Regions from separate parts of the Homo sapiens genome. Here region 2 is linked to region 1. The links are contacts of gene promoters, found by promoter capture Hi-C in blood cells and fetal thymus (Javierre and others, 2016). All regions are on one chromosome and are shown on one strand. The core of a region is centred on a gene start or on the middle of the fragment in contact, and the rest is flanking DNA. Distances in the headings are between cores, read along the strand shown. Region 1 holds the start of ABCA13 (ATP binding cassette subfamily A member 13). Region 2 overlaps LOC105375270 (a long non-coding RNA gene).

What was found. Contacts are between HindIII fragments. The CHiCAGO score rates a contact against its expected background, and 5 or more counts as called.
Region 2: a fragment that was not itself captured here is called in contact with the fragment with the promoter of ABCA13 in region 1 in 1 of 17 cell types (neutrophils); the score reaches 5.1 in neutrophils.

Annotation. Positions count from the first base shown.
Region 1 is chr7:48,167,767-48,174,353 of GRCh38, reverse strand. It overlaps ABCA13 (ATP binding cassette subfamily A member 13), which reads right to left and starts at 2,896. Exons shown (of 62, transcript NM_152701.5): 1 at 2,802-2,896. The coding sequence starts at 2,870. The HindIII fragment of the contact is 8,502 bases long and covers 88-6,587 here.
Region 2 is chr7:47,983,080-47,989,666 of GRCh38, reverse strand. LOC105375270 (a long non-coding RNA gene) reads right to left here. Exons shown (of 3, transcript XR_927251.3): 1 at 6,532-6,587; 2 at 5,362-5,449; 3 at 2,222-3,316. SUN3 (Sad1 and UNC84 domain containing 3) reads left to right here. Exons shown (of 10, transcript NM_001030019.2): 9 at 787-879; 10 at 2,218-2,519. The coding sequence ends at 2,337. Among named protein-coding and RNA genes, the nearest start is that of HUS1, 6.8 kb to the right of the region's middle. RefSeq lists an enhancer at 1-590. The HindIII fragment of the contact is 2,057 bases long and covers 3,268-5,324 here.

The sequences.
Region 1 (6,587 bases), core at 1,647-4,146:
ACATGTATGCTGACACTATGTACATCTATTATGCATCAATTTAAAAAAAAAGCTAAAAAAAACAGTAAATGTAAAAACAGACAAGCTTCCTTCCTACAACAAATAGTTCCTGGCTTTACTCACTAAATAAACATGTATTTGAGGCCATTTATTCACTCAGGCAGTTTGGTTATTCCACAGTTCATGCCAACACCTCACTTTCATAGTTCAAAAACAAAGAATCTACAGATTATCATTGGAGAATGGGAGAATGCTGTGAAAAATAGGTCAGTTTAAAGACATTCACCCAGAGGGGCCTGCCCTCAATATTTCCACTGTAATAACATTAAGATATGTAAACATATTCACATTTTATCCCCCTGGAGTTCTGTTCTAACCCAACTGTGCAAGCCATGAACTGAGAGTTACCCTGTGCCTCCTCTCCTCACAGCCCACGGTTCATGTCCACAGATGTCTGAGGCCACCCATTTCTACCAAATAAGAAAACAGCTCCCACTCCTATACCAGGTACTGTTGCAAGCACATTACATGTACAAACTCATTTAATACTTACAAACAATTTCATTTTACAGAGAAGAAAACTAAGTTAAGAAATTGCCTGAAAAAGTAAACTAGTAAGTGACAGAGCTGGGATGTGAACCCAGTCAGGCAGCTCCAAATTCTATGCATGGAACCACTTGTGTTGTTTCTACTCTGTTGCTATTCTAGGCATTGCTATAATGAACAACCTTGTACAAATATCACTTCCCATTTGTGCAGGGACATCTATAGGATATATCCCAAGAGGTGGTTTCATTAAATATTTAATTGCATTTTTCATTGCTTTTCTGTGAACAGACTATAGCTCTTTGTGGGCCAGGAACTCACTTTTCTTGTTCACCCACTATCTGGCACATAACAGAGATGCATAAATGCTTTATTCCTTCCTTCTTTTACTTATTCAACAAATATTTACTGAACATCCATTGTGTGCCAGGCACTGTTCTGGGTGCTGGAGAATACATTGATGAACCAATTGGGGAAAATGTCCTGCTCTCATGCATGTAACATACTAATGTAGGATCCAGAGGCAATCGGCAAATAAGAAAATCTGTGGTGTGTTACAAGATGATAAATACTAAAGAAAAATAAGTCAAAGAAAAGTGGGATGCAGGAGTTACCACTTTAAATAAACAGTTATCAAACAAATAAAACCTTCTGATGAGGATGTTTGCCTTAGCAGCAAAAGTAATTGTGAAAATTTTTTAAAACTCAAGTATCCATTAAGGAGGAGTAGGCAGTCTGGCTACCTCGGTCACTGAACTGTTTTGAGGTAGATATGCATAAAGCAGAAAGAGCAGTGCCTGGGAACCAACTTCCACCCATAACACTCTTTCATGGGAAAATAGGCTAATTCCCTAAAACAAACTTACATGTCAATGAAATACACTGTTTATAAATGTAAAACTACCTACACAGACACGAACACACTAACAATCAATGAAGACTGTCTCACTCCTTTATTCCTGAACTTAAAACTTTTTTTTTTTTTTTTTTTTTTTTTTTTTTTTTTTTTTGAGACGGAGTCTCGCTCTGTCGCCCAGGCTGGAGTGCAGTGGCGCGATCTCGGCTCACTGCAAGCTCCGCCTCCCGGGTTCACGCCATTCTCCTGCCTCAGCCTCCCGCGTAGCTGGGACTACAGACGTCCGCCACCACACCCGGCTAATTTTTTTGTGTTTTTTTAGTAGAGACGGGGTTTCACTGTGTTAGCCAGGATGGTCTCGATCTCCTGACCTCGTGATCCGCCCGCCTCGGCCTCCCAAAGTGCTGGGATTACAGGCGTGAGCCACCGCGCCCGGCCAACTTAAAACTTTTGTACAAACTTTCAACTGAAATTATTTTGATCCTAAAGATCACATAAAAAAGAAAACATCTCCTTTAACTTGTATTTTATTTCAAGACAGAGAGATAGAATATTCTGGCTCGGAGGATTCAGCAAAATGTAATTCAATGTCAATTACTGAATCTCTTCAAACCAAAGCATTTGTCAGCAGAAAATTCCCATAGGTTAACTGTAGACCTTAAAATCAGAAACGATGCAGGTAAATTACTGCACATCTACTTCTCCTGAAAATGACATTTATAGGTATTAATGTTTATATAGTGGCATCAGGAATAAAGTTAGTCATAATAACAAGCAATTGATTTCTATTTCACAAAAACGTACACTTACAGGATATTTGCATAAGTATTCACACAAGTTTCATTTGAACAATTCCAATCTCCTTAGGAAAACCTTGCTAATGTAATTTGAATACAGTTCTAAATAGATGTGAATTAACACTAAAGATGGTGACCCTACAGAATAACAGAGTGGATGTGTCATACCCTGCTCTGGTGAGGCACACTGTGCAGTCTTGTGCTTCGGAGTCAGTACCTGTAGCATTCTGCTTATGCATTAAATGCAGCAAATGCTTTGTTCCTTAAACCTGAGAATTCACTGTTCAGTTTTTACAACGAATGCTTAGAACACAAATTATAGTTCAATTCCACCTGCTTTTTTGTTTGTTTGTTTTTAGAATTTTTCTAAATTTGCCCTTTTCTGATAAATTCTTCAGCCTTGATTTCATCCTGGTCATTAAAGTGTTCAGCTACTTTGGCCCTTGGGACGGGTTTTGATTTAAAATAATCCAACCTCCCCAAATTCCCTGCAGCATGAGTGTTTTTACCTGCCAGGAGGCAGAGGCAGGCAGGAAAGAATAGACCCTGATCTTGCTCCAGACCTCACTGGAACCCTATGGAAAACCAAGGCAAGCACTCACCGGGTTCCTGAGTCTGCAGAGCCAATTCTTCCACAGCAGGGCTTTGAACTGGCACCCGGCATGCCCCATGCCTGCTGCTCCCTGCTCTCAGTCAGGAAGCCAGCCTGTAAGGATGGTGCTTATATCTGCTGGGCTCAAGTGAAGGCATGTTGCCTATTAGTCAATTCTAACAAAAGTGAGTGATGCAAGAGAGATTACTGGTGACTGAATAAAACAGGCATCAGATGTCCCCTCTTGTTCGGCATCTGCTGAGAAATCTTTTCACTAGCTGTTCAGTGTTTCAGGAGGGTTGAATTACAGAAAGCTGCCTTCAGGGACTTTCTCGGGCATACACACATACACAGAGAGGGTGCCCTCCCTTTCCGAGAACCCACAGAACTGATCTGTGCGACAAGAAGTAATGCCCACATTTACCATTTACCTCCCTTTTTTTCTGGATATTAATTAGATGGAATTTTCCTTTTTTCTTCTGAAGCATTGGTTATTACACAAATTTGCCAAAATATTTCAATTTTGGTGGTCCCATGGCAGAGAGTTTGAAGGGAAGGAGATGGAAGCAGTGTTGGTGTCTGGGGGAGTTTGGGGAATGGGTGACTCAAGTTCCACTCTGCTACTGCACCTGCACTTCATACTTCTCCTTCACCCATTTCCTCCAAAGGGATCAGGATCTACGTTTCAAATGGTATCGGGTGCAGATGTGGCAGGACTCAGCAAGTGGCCTGTGGATTACCTCTGAGTCCTGTTTGATTCCTGAACACTTGCACTTTCTAAGTGGCATGATGGATTCAGCTTGCCAGCTGGTGGCTCCATCGTCTTGGAAGCCAGGCCCTCTTGAGTTCCTGTTGCCCCCAGTTGTGGTCAGAAGGATTTCAGGCAACCCAGTCTTGTGGTCTTCTATTTCATAAAGCAATTTTCACAAGCTGTGAATGCTTGATAAATGGCTTTTGCAATAGGAAACAGGGAACACAGGCTTCAGCAAAGAAACTGACTCAATTATTTTGTAAACTTATTTGTTTAGAGCATGCCTATTTTATTTTATTTTTTGTTACATGGCTGGCAGCACTAGAGTGAAGGCCATTACTTAGCAGGATGGCGCCCAGCAACCATAAGTGGATTTGCCTGATCCCCATATGATGTTCCCCCTTGACCTGTGACTTCTCAAAGGTCTTTGGGGTTGCCTAAGTATTGCTACTCTGGTTCTCTTTGCAGATAACATCTAGAACACCTTACAAGTAATTGTCATAATTTTTAAAAATCTAGTATAAGAAAAAGCCTCCAACCATAAGGTTTTTCTCATGTTATGTTCATAGCAGCCAGTTTTTATGCTGCTATGCCAGAATTATGTCAGAGACACAAAAATTATCTCATCCATTGCTTTCATGGAACAATGCTGTGTTAGGATTTTCAGATAAACAGAACCAATGGGTGATTCATTGATCGATTGATTGATTGATTATAAGGAATAGGCTCACACAGTCATGGAGGTGGGCAAGTCCTAAGATCTGCAAGGTGAATTAGCAAGTCAGAGACCCAAGGAAGCCAATGATATAGTTCCAGTCCGAGTCCAAAGACCTGAGAACAGGAGAGCCAATGGTGTAGTTGCCATCCAAAGACTGGGAAACTTGAGACCCAGGACAAGCTGGTATTTCCATAAAGTCTGAAGGCAGAAAACAAAAAAAAGCCAATGTCCCAGTATGAAGGCCATCAGACAGAAATAATTATCTAACTTAGGGGAAAGTCAGACTTTTTGTTCTGTTTAGGTCTTCAACTAATTGGATGAGACCCACTCACACTAGGGAGGGCCATCTGCTGAATTCAGTCTACCTACTTAAATATTAATGTCATTTATAAACACCCTTGCAGAAACTCCCAGAATAATGCTATCTTTTGTTCCGTGTTTCAGCCAAGAAAACAAACAAGCAATTAGAGCCCTTCCTAACTCCATGAGCTGCCATATTAAATGCAGAATAACTGCTTAGTGACCCCATATTAGCAAATTTGGCCTGATACAATTTTATGTTCCTTCCATCATTATCCCATACCCTTATATCCATTTCCACACATATTCCCCAGATTTCTGCTTGTATACATTAGAAAACTCAAATTGTCCATTTGATGTATAGCACACTTCCTCATGGTTTATACCTTATATCTCCCCTTTGGGTGCTGCTGGGACTTGAATCTAGTTATAGGTCTGAAATGAACGAGGAATGGTGGGAGTGGGTTCTGAGGAGAAGCAGAAGCGCCTTGCATGGCAACTGCCTCATGGTAGGACATTATAGTTTTCTTAGGCAAGGCAGGGTTGATCCCCTCAGACATGGGGTAAGAGACTACTTCCACTAGGACTGGGGAAAATGCCTCCACTTGAGTGTGGAGATCTCTTCCACATAACAAAGAAGACGTTATTTAGGGGCTCAGTGTCTCCAGCTTCATCAGGGTCTTCCCACATATCTCCATTCCAACTTTCAGCACCGCATTCCCTCCAAATCAATGCCTTTACTTTAATAGTAGACACCCTACAAGACTAGCAGTCAAATTGCATTGTAATTCAGTCAGTTGCAAGATGAGATTCTGGTTTGATTTTCTGCAATCTCAGCCCTGCAACTACAGGAAATAAGGGTCTCTTTCGGGGACACACTTAGAAACTTTCAGGTCATTTATGCAGCACTTCAGCTGGGAATTTGACCCCTGAGGTCATCCTTTTCTTTTTCCACTTTGTCCACCAACACTAGAAGCAACCAGTCAACCTCATTTTACTCATGAGTTTGACAAAAATGTTGGAAAGTATCAAATACAAGATCATCCAGACCCTTGCTTCTTCTAAGTGTTTGATTAGAAGCATCTAGTGGTGATATTTTGTGCATCTCTACTGCCACATCATGTCATGGACCACCAATTTTCTCTTTATTAGAAATAGAGTCAATAGTCTTTAAATCTAATCAGATTAGAGATTCAATCCCAGAAACCTCAGAACCTATTTAAGTTTATCCTTAAGATTCTCTTCCTCCAGAATTATTCTTAGTACCAAAATACGTATTAGGGTTCTCCAGAGAAACAGAATCATATGCATATTTATATATCTAAAGAAATTTACCATAAGGAAGTGGCATAAGCAGTTATGGAGCTGGGCAAGTCCCAAGATCTGCAGGTGAGTCAGCAACTTGGTGATAATGGTGTAGCAAGTTGGAGAGACAATGGTGTAGCTCTAGTCAGAGTCTAAAAGCCTGAGAACCAAGAAAGCAATCGGTGCCATCTAAAGGCCAGCATATTTAATAACCCCAAAGAGCCAAGGCTTCAATTCAAGTCTGAAGGCAGAAAAAAAGCTGAGGTCTCAATTTAAAGGTCATCAGGCAGGAAAAATTCTCTTACTTGGGGAGGATCAGCCTTTTTGTTCTATTCAGGCCTTCAGCTGATTGGATGATGCCAACCTACATTAGGGAGGGCAGTCTGCTATATTCAGTCTACAAATTCAAATATTAATCTCATCCAAAACACACTGACAGATACACCCAGAATAATATTTGACCATATATTTAGAAATCCTGTGGCCCCATCAAGTTGACACATAAAATTCATCATCAGAAATGCTATGAGTTTGGTATTTACATTTTTTTAAATTCTAGTTTGTGCTTTAGTTACATAAATTTAGTTGTAGGGAGATGATAGCATTTTTGTTTCATTTTGTTTTGTTTCTTTCCTGTTCTTTTTAAAAAATAATGTCCATTTTTATTTTAGATTCAGGAGTTACACATGCGGAATTGCTCTCTGGGTGTATTACACGATGCT
Region 2 (6,587 bases), core at 3,047-5,546, 190 kb after region 1:
TGTGAGTACATTATGTAACCATGATGTATCCAACTCTTTTAATAAAAATGTTATAGTTTGATATTAATATTTTTATTATAAAATGATTTAATGAATGTACTGTTTATTTTGCTGTGTTACAATTTAAGGAACCTAACAATAAACTTCAGATTCACAAAATAAATTAGTTTGCACCAGTGCGTTATCCTCTCACAAATCTTCAATTTGAAGGGTAGAGAAGAACAAAAAGCACAAGAGAAATTGCATACAAAGAAAAAAATCAGTGTTTTTGTCAGTCAACGGGAGCTTACTTTTCAGAGGAAATTATTTGTGTGATCAAAATCTGGCAATGGGCTTATGTTTATCTCATTTTGGTAAACATCAGTTCAGTATGGCGACGCATTTTTATTTTATTCAAAGTATGCTTATTGCAAATATAGTTATCAGGTCAAAGTTAATGTTGGGATTTGCTCTATATGTATGTATCTGTCTTCCATCTATCAGCTGTTTGTCAATCATCTATCTTCTAACTATCTATCTATGGATCTATCTATCTAGCTCTCTATCTATCTATCTATCTGTCTGTGTGTCCATCCATCTTCTATCCTTTTAGTCAGTCCCGTGATCAGCCTTGGGCCTCATTGACCCCTTGTTAAATATCCTCTGGGTGTATAGGTTAGTACTGGCATGATCACAGCACTGTGCCCCTGGTGGACACACAGAGATATTTGGTGAATTGTTGGTTCTTTTTGAAAACACAACTGCATCCATTCATTACAATCTCTATATCTGTTGCTTTCTTTATAGGGCATCACAAAAAAATGTGAAGGAGAAGAAATTTTCCTAGGTCAGTTTATATATAACAAAACAGGAACCACCGTTCAAACATTTGAACTCCAGGTAATGTATGCTCTGGGAAATGATATGAGTAGCTCTATCACTGGGAGAAATTTGTTGGGATTGCTTCATGTAAAGTGACGTATGAGAATAATTATGACAAAAGCGTGAGTTACACAAGGCTTATCTGATCTTCAATTCTGAGCTCGAAGTGCTTACGAGGATTTTAATGCAAAAGACAGACAAATGCAAAAGCAGTTTCTAAGTCAAATTCTTCCTCATCTGCTATCACTTTTTTATAATATATATATTTAATTTCTTGGTTCTTTCTTAACTATTCCATTCCCTGAATACTATTAAGTGTAATAGTTACTACCTCACCTTGCTTGAGTATAGGGGAGGAAGATGATGGTACAATATGAAGTGGACAGAGGCAGAGAGAAGCTCAAAGGAATAGAGGATAAAGATTTAATATCAGATAATACAAGTAAAACTCCTAACCCAGTGGGAGAAAATATCAACTGTTAGCTTATAAATCCCCTGAAACTCACCAAGGCAAATGAAATATATCCTCATTTTTTAAATTAGCCACAGGGAGTAACTGAAGAGATGTAGAAGACATTTTATATCATGTAAAAACAAGTGTTTTATGACACTTTTTGGCCAAATAGTGAGAAAATAAAGGTAAAACAATACATATATGTTAGAAATGAGCATATTTGTAGAGCTTCATATTTGATTATGTATTCATATGCATTTGGGCTCATATTATCTGTTCTTATAGTTGGCTTCATAGTTCTGGTTTTTAGACAACAAGCCCTCTTGCCCCTGCTCCTCGGCACAGCCAGCAAGGAGTGTAGAGGGGGGAAACAGCGGAATAGAGAGGTCACTTGGCCGCCATATTATCCTCCTCTCCCTCTACTTATCTTTTCATAAGCTCTTTATTCCAGTAGCTTATTTTCTCATTCATTAGACTGATATTTGAAAATAGTTATGTTAGAAAAGAAAAAGTATATAGGCCAGGCGTGGTGGCTTACACCTGTAATCCCATCACTTTTGGAGGCCTAGGCAGGTAAATCATTTGAGCCCTGGAGTTCAAGACCAGCCTGGGCAACATGGCAAAACCCTGTCTCTACAAAAAATTAATAAATTAGCTAGGTGCGGTGGCGTGTGCCTGTAGTTCCAGCTACTCGGGGGTCTGAGCTGGGAGGATGACTTGAGCCCAGGAGGTAGAGGTGGCAATGAGCCATGATCATGCCACTGCATTCCAGCCTGTGTGACAGAGCCAGATCCTATCTCGAAAAAAAAAAAGTATATAATTTAAAATTATATCAGTATTCATTGGGATTCTTTGAGATGAATTTCGTTATAAGGCATTGATTTTCTTTTCTTTATTTTCAGCATGCAGTTTCTGAATATTTATTATGTGTGAAACTTAATATCTTTAGCAACTGGGGACACCCGAAGTATACTTGTTTATATCGATTCAGGGTCCATGGCACACCAGGCAAGCACATCTAGAAGAGTTGGTACAGAAGGCCATGCCACATGTCCAGAATATTCAAGAATGCTTATTCTCTTAGATGATACCGCACCCATAGGAATTGAGAATTGGGAGTGGGAAGAAAACCTCAAAGTGGTTCATACTTGCCTGTAAAAAGTAAATGCATTTTACTAATAAAAAAATATGGAAGTAAATTAAATATCCTTGCCATAGTTTAGTCTTTAAGGATGCTTCATGTTGTTAGAGCATTGAAAACTCATTTTGTATTTAGAAGAAGATAGTCTCATCATCAGTCTTTCCCATAATAGCATCTTTGCCTTCACGGACTCATTTATTTACACCAGGCATGGATGTCCACTATCACTACTATCATTTAGTGCTGATCTGGAGGCACTGGTCAGCGCAATTAGATAGGAAACCAGTAATTTTTAAATTGGAGGTAAAAATTAGTGAGGAGTTCTGACCATGACCATTTGCAGATAATTTGATGAATTCCTTGAAATGCAATAGAGTCTATTTTAAAAGAATTAGAAACAAGGAAAAACTGTTGTAAGTTCGTGGATGCAAAATTCCCATATATAAATCAATATCATTCATAAAAACAACAGGGTATAACTTACAAAATCCATTATTATCTTTAGATAATAAACATCAAATAAAAGAAGAAAGTAAAATATCTATGTGAAAAAAATCCCAAACAGCAGTGAATGACTAAAAGAAGACTTAAGGCCAGGCACAGTGGCTCACAACTGTAATCTTAGCACTTTGGGAGGCCAAGGGTTGGGGGATCACTTGAGCCCAGGAGTTTGAGACCAGTCTGGGCAACACAGCAAGACCCCATCCCTACAAAAAATTTAAAAATTAGCCAGACGTCTTGGCACATGCCTGTAGTTGCAGCTACTCAGGAGACAGGTGGGAGGATCACTTGAGCCCGGGAGGTTGAAGCTTCAAGTGAGCTGTGTTCGAGCCACTACGCTCCAGCCTGGGCGACCCTGTCTGGAGAAAAAAAAAAAAAGAAGACTTCAGTAAAATAAATGGAAAAATAGATGTACCATATACTGTATCCTTCAATGGGAAAACTCAACTGTCAAGATGTCAGTTCTAAGTTAATTTATAAATGTAACTTGATCTCAGTTAAAAAGCAGAAAAATATGGACTTTATGGGACAGTTATGAGATATTAAAGAATTATCGTTAAAAAAAATAATTTGGGCTGGGCACGGTGGCTCACACCTATAATCTCAGCACTTTGGGAGGCCAAGGTAGAAGGACTGCTTGACTCCAGGAGTTCAAGATGAGCCTGGGTGACATAGTGAGACCCTGTCTCTATTAAAAATAAAAAAATTAGCTGGGCATGGCAGTGCACACCTGCAGTTCCAGCTACTTGGAAGGCTGAGGTGGGAGGATCACTTGAGCCCAAGAATTTGAGGCTGCAGTGAGCCATGATCACTGTGCTCCTGCCTGGGCGGCAGAGCAAGACCCTGTCTGAAAAAAATAAATTATAGGTGTCTGTATGATAATGGTACTAAAATGATGATTTTAAAATAAATCTTTTTATTTACATATTTAAATATTTAAAGTTGAAATGATATATGTGGGATCTTTTCCATAATAACATAAGAGGAAGAAATGGATAAGAAAATTCATGAAAAAGATTGGCCATGAAATGATCATTGAAGTTGAATGCTGCCAGTCCATGGAGCTTCATTATATTATTCTGTCTAGATTTATATATGTTCGATATTTTCAATTAAAAAGTTTTTTAAAAATTAAGACATGTATATATTTTTAAAAACCCAAAGGGGGGTATGTTTTAAATAAAATTGATTCTAAAGTTCATATGGAAATATAAACTTAGCAAAAGGACAGCCAGAAAAATCTCTGAAAAAAAATCAACAAAAAGAAATAGCTCTATGACATAGGTATAAAACAATAGTTAAAACTGTATGATACTGGCAAACAGATAGACCAATGGAACAGACTGCCGAGACCAGCTTGGTCGGGGAGACCCTAACCCAGCGGCGCTAGAGGAATTAAAGACACACACACAGAAATATAGAGGTGTGAAGTGGGAAATCACGGGTCTCACAGCCTTCAGAGCTGAGAGCCCCGAACAGAGATTTATCCACATATTTATTAACAGCAAGCCAGTCATTAGCATTGTTTCTATAGATCTTAAGTTAACTAAAAGTATTCCTTATGGGGAACAAAGGGATGGGCTGAATTAAAGGAATAGGTTGGGCTAGTTAATGGCAGCAGGAGCATGTCCTTAAGGCACAGATAGCTCATGCTATTGTTTGTGGCTTAAGAATGCCTTTAAGCAGTTTTCCGCCCTGGGTGGGCCAGGTGTTCCTTGCCCTCATTCCGGTAAGCCCACCACCTTCCAGCGTGGGCGTTATGGCCATCATGAACATGTCACAGTGCTGCAGAGGTTTTGTTTATGGCCAGTTTTGGGGCCACTTTATGGCCAGATTTTGGGGGGCCTGTTCCCAACAACAGACAAGTCCAAAAATATATTTACATGTATGTGGAAGTTGGGTGTATGATAATGGTAGCATCTCAAAAGAGTATGGGGGAAAAAAACAAATGGCTTGGGACAATTATCCAGTCATTAAGAAAATAAAATTCCATCCATATTTCTCACTTTACAATATGACAAACTCCCAGTATGGTAAAATATATACAAGTAGGTAATAAAACCATAAAAATATTAACAAGGAAACTTGGGATAATTCCTGTATGGTATTGAATAGAGGAAGGTCTTCCTAAATATGACTCAAAATTTAGAAGCCACAAAAGAAAAAAAATTCCACTATATAAAAATCAAGAACCTCTGCATGGCCAACAAAACTTAAAATGCAAAAAATATTCACAACTGACATTATAAGGACCAATCTTTCCAATATATACACAGTCCCAAGAAAGCAATTATAATATCAATAACCCAATAGAAAAATGGCCAGTAAACAGATCATCTAGAGACGCACATGAAAGATATTCAAGCTTATTTACTTAAGAAAAATGGCAAAAATTATACTGTACCATGTTTCACTGATGAAATTAGAAAGATCCAAAAGTTTGATAATGTTTTATTCCAAGGCTTTGGGGAAACAGGATCTCTCACACGTTGCTGGAAGAAATGCAAATAGGTATAACATTTATGGAGGGAACTTGGCCTATCTATAAAAATCGAGATGAATATATCCTTTGACTAAAAAACTTACCATGTGCAAAATGCCGTATATAAAATGTTATTCATCAGTAATATTTCCCAGGAGGAAATAAGGGGGTGCAGAAGGGTAGGGATGAACCTCTCCTTCCTTTGCCACTTTAGCTTTAGCTGGTAAATAAACATGCTCTGTAACCTCTTCTGTTACTTCACTATACTCTCCTTCCTTTTCCACTATGAAGCGTTCCTACCTCTCTGCCTGCCTTTGAGTCTCTGCTGAAATGCAAGTGATAATGGCTGACTCTGAATAAATAGGCTTTGCCTGTTCCATTTGGTTGGTCTTCATTTATTTCCACACTATCAATTGTTTTCCTGAAGGTCAAGTGTAAATAGAGCTGGTCCAGTCAGCAGGAGCATGTGGGTCACTGGACACTCAGCAATCCAGTGATGCAGATTCTCATCAAGAGTGTGAGGTAGGGCATGCCATGGCCAACATTGCCAATTCTATCTGTCCCCATCTTTAAAATGGGAATAATAGGCCGAGCATTGTGGCTCACACCTGTAATCCCAGCACTTTGGGAGGCTGAAGCAGGCAGCTCACCTGATGTCATGAGTTTGAGACCAGCCTGGCCAACACAGTGAAACCCCATCTCTACTAAAAATACAAAAAATGGTCTGGGTGTAGTGGCAGGTGCCTGTAATCCCAGCTACTCGGTAGACTGAGGCAAAAGAATCACTTGAACCCAGGACTCAGAGGTTGCAGTGAGTCGAGATTGCACCATTGCACTCCAGCTTGGGCAACAAGAGCAAGACTCCATCTAAAATAAAATAAAATAAAATAAAATGGGAATAATCATACTTATTTTACGTGTGTTTATATTATCTAAGTGATGATATCAGTGCAGAGTGCTATAAAATGAGAGCTATCTATCTCACCCTACTGATCAATAATATTTAAATAGTGCTTTAAAGGCATCCAATAAATGTTGATCACCCTCCTCTTGAGTAGGGGCTGGTCCCCTTCCTTAATCCCCATCACTCACCACCATGCCTGACACTTCTCATGTGCTCCACAAATCTTCATTTAGAAAAGTATCTA